Linked DNA regions of Homo sapiens: region 1 is linked to region 2. Evidence: promoter capture Hi-C in human tissues and cell types (Jung and others, 2019). All regions are on one chromosome and are shown on one strand. Each heading gives the region's core, a stretch centred on a gene start or on the middle of the fragment in contact. The rest is flanking DNA. Distances are from core to core; before and after follow the strand shown.

Region 1 (3,716 bases), core at 1,213-3,712, 45 kb before region 2:
CACGGTTTCTAGTTCAATCTGGGCAGGGCCTATGCATCTCTAACTAGCTTTCAGGCGATGCTGATGTGGATCCAGGACCACACGTTGAGGACAGTGCCTGGCAACAGTAAACACCAGGCAGATGTGAGTTACTATCACTTTTATATTTTGGAGCAGGAGTAATAGTGTAGACACCCCCACCCGGCTGCAATTCTAATTTTAGGGTCCTTATTTTGACTACATCAATAATTGCTTGATTTTCAATTTTTGTAGCACTACTCTAAACAGTGAGGAGGAGAGACTCAGTGTTCTAGGGGGTTAGGATCCACAAGTCATCGCTGCCGCACATCCAAGTGACCCAAGTACAGGAATCAGGGCCCTGGGTGCCTCGGTTTCAATGTAGTTTTGTCAGCCCAGAACAGACTAAAAAACAAATTTCTGGAACATTCTCCTACCTCACAAGACCCTGTACTATGTGTTGAGGACATGTTTTGGGGAGGTTGGGGCAGAAAACAAGTGACTTCCACAGCCCAGAGTCTTCTTCTCTGTTGTCTTCTTTGGTCCTGCCCTCCCCAGGGGTTTTAAGCATGCAAAGGATGGATCTTCCCCCTGAGGAAATCACAGGCCCTGACCCTTATTTTAGAAGGCGGATGACAAAGATAAGGGGCACGGTGACACCTCTGTCACCTAATGATCAGTCTGAATTACACATCTAAAATTAACAGCTTCTCCTCCTCCCTCCTACCCACCCGCCTACCCAATACTTAAACCCTTCTTTGTCATTGTTTCTCCGAGCAATTGATTCGCGAGAAATACCACCTGGATCTGCAAACCCTTGCAACTCAGGGAGTGGGACTCAGCATTGCACTGGGGTTAAGAATGGAGGGGCTGGGGTCATCTCCTCACTTGTTAGCTTGGAGAATGAGGCTACCATTTTCTTATGTAAATTGAAAGAAGTAAGGCTACTTGCATCACAGCGTTCTTGTGAGGGTTAATTAGATATGCATGCAAGGTCTCCATAAATAACAATTGTGGTTTCTATGGAGGATTTTTAAGAGTTCCTCATTGGGATCCTCTTCTGCATGCCCTCCCAGGGCTGTCACTTTTCCAGAATTATCCAGCAATGTTCGGTTGGTTTTGGGGGTCCAGATTCTCCACTTTCCCTGATTTGTCTATGTGACTTTGGACTGAAGGAGAAAGGAGGAGGATTTGGAGTGGGACCTGGGGGAAGAAATGAGGAGACAGGGACAGTGCAAGCTCTAATGAGGAGTCTGCCCCGACTTGACCGCAAGAACAGATGCTCAGTCCCTGTGAAGCAGAAGCCGTAAACTGGAGGATCTGTTCTCCCCAGGTGATGCGGGAAACTTAGTAGCTCAGAGTCCAAGTGGACAAAATACAATGCAGCATTTGGGGAGGGGCTCACACACAGCACTAGGCATGCACTAAGCACAGAAGGGAACCAAGTCTGTTTGGCTTTTCCAGGGTGTGAGGTCCCAGGCACGAAGGTAGTGTTTTAATGGAGGCCATTGTATCACAGGGATGCCAAGGTAATTCCCATAAGGACTTGTAAATGGGCAGTAAATATTAATGGAGAGCATGAGGGGGCTTGTTCCTGAGCTTCTTCCTCTAGATGGGGGGAAATCCCTAAGTAATGGGGTGGGAGGGACTACAGTTACACAGGTGGGAGCAGGTGAAGTCAGGGACATTCAGGTGACACAGCTGAAGCCTGCTTGCAGCACAGTGCTGGGCATATGGGAAGCACCCAGGAACTGGTCATAATTACCAGCTTTTCCTGGACACTTTGACCTTTCCCCATGCCCACAGGACTGGGCAGTCTCTGCTGTGAGTATCGAAGGTTGTGAGAACTCTCAGTCCTTCCTTCTGTGGAACTACAAAATATTTACTTTTAAGAGGAAAGAGTAACTTACGTCTAAGTTACTAGGGGATAGCAATGATCTTTGGCTGGCTTTGCTGAGCTGTAGACTTGGAGTCAACAGACCCCGTTCACCTCCCAGCTATTTTGCCTTTGAGCTGTGAGACCACAGGCTAATTATTTAGCTTCCTCCTCCGTAAAGTGGGAATGAAATTGCCTGCCCTACTACCAGATCATAAACATGAAAATGTTTTGTAAGTTGTAAAGTTCTGTTAAAGGAGTTAGGGAAAGGGAGTTTGTCATGGCTAATAACGAGGTCTTCTAGGAATACCAGCATTCAACTGAAAAGTGGCAATCACGGGAACTGGCATTCCCTTCTTCTGAAGTAATGAGGACTAATGAGTTCAGCCGGCCGAGCACAGTGGCTCACGCCTATAATCCCACCACTTTGGGAGGCCGAGGTGGGCAGATCACGAGGTCAGGAGATCAAGACCATCCTGGCCAACATGGTGAAGCCCCGTCTCTACTAGAAATACAAAAATTAGCTGTGCATGGTGGTGGGCACCTGTAGTCCCAGCTACTTGGGAGGCTGAGGCAGGAGAATCACTTGAACCCAGGAGGCGGAGGTTGCAGTGAGCCAAGATTGCACTACTGCCCTCCAGCCTGGTGACAAAGTGAGACTCCATCTCAAAACAGAACAAAACAAAACAGAGTTCAGCCATGGAGACAGGTGAGTGGTGGGGAGGTATTTGGGTTATTCCTGGATGTTCACCACCTACTCTTGAGGCTAGTCCATGGCACCTGAACCTAATAATCTCATTAGAAGCTGTCAGTGGGACAATCTTGAGGATGTGACAGGTGCTGCTCCCTGCTCCACACCTCTGGGGTCATTCCTCACTGTCTTCCAGGCTGTGAACTTCTAGATGAAGGTCTGCATTCTCTTCTCCTTGTTGTCCAGCACTGAGCACAGGACCTGGCACTCAGCAGACATTCTGATGGTGTTTACAGAATGATTCAGTGAGTGGGAGGGTGTGTTTTCTTTTTTTGGATCATGGTCCTTGTCTATATTCTGCACACTTACTCTCATTCTCACACCTCTTCTATTTCTGAAATGTCCTTACACTGATCTCCAACTGTGGGGAGACCAGAACATGAAAGTTCATATATTTGGGTCTAAAACACAGGAAAGCCTGAGAAAGAAGAACAAGAATTGCTTTCCTTTCTGAGCCGTGTGTGCCTTTGGAATCCACTTTGGGGAAGAAAGAAGACTTGCAAATTAATCTCGGGGGGCGAGTGGGAGTAACAGGCAAATACTGTGGAGAACGTGTCCATCTTGACATAATGCTGTTTTGTATCTTAAAAGGAGATGTGGATTCTGGAGGTTTCCCACCCTGGAAATAACTGCTTTTCAAAAAAAAAAAAAAAGATGCTTAGGAAATAAATCTGGCAATGGCTCCCATTGTTATTAGGGTTGAAATGCATGATTTGTATGTTTTCTGTATGTGGCTATGATTTTAAGTCAGGGAGCTTCTTGATTTTAAGTTAGTTTCCACGCTTGCTCCTATAACCTCTTAGCTGTGTGACAACAATGACAATGACAAAAAAGGTGATGACAGTGGTCAAGGGCTTGCTCTAGACCACCATTCATGCTTGTTCCCTATCTCACAATGACCCTCTAAGGTTGGTCATAATCTCAATTTTACTTTACAGATTGAGAGACTAAGGTTTTGAGGGTTCAGTGATTTCCTCAAGTTAATATAGGAAGTCACCTTAATTTGAACCTTGTTTGAACCCAGGCCTGATAGCTATGTCTATATCCTTCTTTGCCTCCTTTGAAAAGTATAAGGTTGAATTTATGATGAGA
Region 2 (3,606 bases), core at 208-2,707:
CAGCACTTTGGGAGGTCAAGGCAGGCGGATCACGAGGTCAAGAGATTGAGACCATCCTGGCCAACATGGTGAAACTCCATCTCTACTAAAAATACAAAAATTAGCTGGGCATGGTGGCGTGTGCCTGTAGTCCCAGCTACTCGGGAGGCTGAGGCATGAGAATTGCTCGAACTCAGGAGGTGGAGGTTGCAGTGAGCCGAGATCGTACCACTGCACTCCAGCCTGGCAACAGAGTGAGACTCCGTCTCAAAAAAAAAAAAATAAAATAAAATAATAAAAAAAAAGAATCCAAGCGAATGGCTGTAGGGGAATAGGAGGGGTCAATTTGGGTAACTCAGTAAATGGTGATGCTGGTAGCAAAGACAGGGAGAAAGGCTTTACTCCACTTTCAGCTCCTCACATCCAACCTACCATTTTCTACCCAGCCCAAGGGCCCTTTTCTTTACAAACCTTCTTCCATCCTTGTCTCCTTAGAGACCACTTCCTTCCCAGAGTGGCTATTCTGGGATTCAGCTGTGGGCAGTTTGCTCTCTAAGCATGAGGTTATTATTTCACCTGTGTGAGGTCTGTATGGGATTGTAGGACTGTTCTCAGGCCCAGGTCACATGCTTCTGTGCTATTCACTCCAGCCACTAGTTCAGTGTCAGGCATTTACGAAGTCCAACAGGCAATGGGGACTTGTGCTGTGATTGCAAATGAAATCTTAAATGTAAAATACATACCAAGTGGAGGTGCTCTGGTTAGCGTAGGGGGAGAAGGCCCAGAATCCAGGACCCTCGGCCTTCTCCTGTTCTTAGCAGCAGCCTCCAAGAACCTCCACTGTATCTAGGACGTCATTCCCTCTTCTAGAACCAGAACTGGAAAACTTCTGGTTGTGTGGGCTGATCTTGGGTTTTGGAGTCAGATAGATCTGGGTTCAAATCCCTGCTCTGTCACTTACTTAGGTGTAATAGAGCAGACAAATGATGAAGATAAATGACAAGTGGCTCTAAGCCTCACTTTCCCCTGTGTAAAACAAAGGTAAGATTTTCTTTGTAGGGTTATCGTGAGGATGAAATAAAATAATGCATGTAACAATCTCTGGTACTTATGAAATGCTCACTAGATTTTAATTGTCATTGCTAACAATAAGAAGACACTTGTTAACTAATTGAGTGTCTGATCCTTATTGAATTGGCACATGTTCAGTCTAAATAAACTTCTTCATCCTCAGGTTAAGAAAGGTTAGGGTTGGGGTGAAGTCATGGTGAGCTTGGGATTATGAGAAGAATCAATCTTGTCTTATATTCCATCCACTCCATCAAACCAGAATCACCTGCCTTTTCATGAGGGTCTATCAATATTTAATGTATGGGTGTCAGTTGCTGTAAACTGACCATACCCCAGCAACAACTTGAATTAATTATATGCAGGAGGAGAGAAAATAAAATGCCTTTTTCTCAGAGGCCCAAGTTTCACCGGCTGCACGGAAGGCTGGAGACCACAGGGTCAACTTTCTGCTGATGGAGGACCCTGAGAAAAAGCTGAATCAGAAGAGTGATGGCAAACCCCGGAAAGTACGATTTAAAATCTCCTCCTCCTACAGCGGTCGAGTATTGAAGCAGGTCTTTGAGGATGGGCAGGAATTAGAGTCACCAAAGGAGGAATACCCTCACAGTTTTCTGCAAGAGTCTCTTGAAACAATGGATGGTGTTTATGGGTCTGGGGAAGTCCCCAGGCCCCAGATGTGCTCCCCTAAGCTGACTGCTCAGAGGATCAGTGTGTTTAGAGAGGGTAATGCCTACACCTTGGCAGGCGGCCAGCCTCGGTTCAACGATTACAAGGCGAATGACCATAAGGTTGGTATTGTGCATGGCATATAGGCTTTAAGGGTAGGGCTTCCTAAAACGTGTTTAGAGAAACTCCTAAATGGTTCAGATTTGTGTCTTGCTCCCCCTCCGGTACCAACCAGAACTGTTGGTGCACCAAATGGGAAGTTGTTATTAGACGAATATTTCTGGGGTAAAAATAACATGCTTGTTGACTACTAATTGGAAAGTGCAATGAGCATATATAGTATTCAAATTCCATCCAAGGTAATACATTGTAATTGGATCTTTGACTGAGTTTTCCTGGAATGTAAATTAAATAGAGGTGCAGTGGTTTTCAGGTTGTCAGACTGCGGTTTTAGACAATTATGCAGTCATTTTGTTTCCTGAAAGAGCTGAGTATTTGAAAGTGCTCATTTTACTCCAGCCAATTACTCAGCTTGCAGTTTATCCATGTCTTGTTTTTTACCCCTATTGCCTTCCTCATACTGCCTGCTTTGTCTATTTATTTTTCCTTTCCATTGCTCCTTAGCATAAGCTCTGGGTAGTTGGAGTCCTGGGAAGGGATGGTGAAACGCAAATCAGCCAGAGGATATGTTATGTGAGGAAGAAGTTTGAGCTAATGGTTCGATTGAAGAATGTGTTTAATCTATGAATTTCAATTACTTCCCAGTACCATGGATAATCAAAAGTCCATACATGATTTTCTTTTAAGGTAGAACCTGGAAAACATACACTGGTATCCAAAAATTCATAGGAGATGTATATATGCTGTCAGTGGGACCATGAATGACTTCTTAAAAAAGATAAAATACAATTATATAATGTATCCACGTTATTAATGAATAGCACACCAGGATGTGTTCTCATCTTTAAAGTGTGAAAGCCAGATAATTACTCTTGAATTATTTTTATTGTTAGTTTCCTAAGGGAATAGATAACACATCTATTGCAGACAAATGTATTACTGGCTTTACTGGCATTGGTAAAAGTATAATTATGGGCATGTTCACAATTACCGAAGATAACACTAGGCTTGTTTTTGATATTAAAAGGGGCTGAAATGAATGACCTCTTATCTTAATGGGGTGACGTATGCAGTACAAAGTGTCATCATGTACTATCTCTGTCTATATCTATGGCATTGGGTCTTTACTATAACCTTGGGGAGAAAGGCCAAAGTATGGTCATTCCCATTTTGCAGAAGAGAAAAATTGAGTGCCAAGTTGTTAAGGGATCCATCTGATACTACAGGGTCATTGGGTACAGAGTCAGAATAAGAATCCAGATCTTCTGATGCTACAAATGTTTTGCTTTAGGGCATGTTCCTTTTTTTAGAGAACCATATTATTACATAATAATAATAGCTACCATTTGTTGAGTGCTTATTAGGTCCTAGGCACTTGGCTAGTCTTGTACTTATACTATTTCTTTTTAACTATGTCTTATTTGTAGATTTAGAATTTACAAAGTCACAGTTCATGCAAACCTTATGCAAGGCCACAGTAGATAAATTTTGGGTTGCTTGATCTTCATAAGTCATGTGCTAAATTTAGCATTTATGAAAATGTATAATTTTTTTTTTCTTTTTTAGAGACAGGGTCTCATCTGTCAACCAGGCTGGAGTGCAGTGGTATGATCATAACTCACAGCAATCTCAAACTCCTGGGCTCAAGGGATCCTCCTGCCTCAGCCTCTCTGGTAGCTAGGACTATAGAATTTATAAATCTAGGTAAATGAGTCTTCATGGCAGCATGGCTCAGTTGGTTAAAACACAGTACTCTATGTGTTTTAGAGG

The links. Contacts are between HindIII fragments. The study calls those that stand out against the background at their distance.
Region 1: a contact is called between a fragment that was not itself captured here and the fragment with the promoter of GRXCR2 in region 2, in 5 of the 25 tissues and cell types used here (adrenal gland, mesenchymal stem cells, psoas muscle and 2 more).

Annotation. Positions count from the first base shown.
Region 1 is chr5:145,916,624-145,920,339 of GRCh38, reverse strand. It overlaps a transcript of GRXCR2 not described here. Among named protein-coding and RNA genes, the nearest start is that of SH3RF2, 18 kb to the left of the region's middle. The HindIII fragment of the contact is 6,073 bases long and covers 1-3,716 here.
Region 2 is chr5:145,870,865-145,874,470 of GRCh38, reverse strand. GRXCR2 (glutaredoxin and cysteine rich domain containing 2) reads left to right here and starts at 1,457. Exons shown (of 3, transcript NM_001080516.2): 1 at 1,457-1,838. The coding sequence starts at 1,503. The HindIII fragment of the contact is 8,071 bases long and covers 1-3,606 here.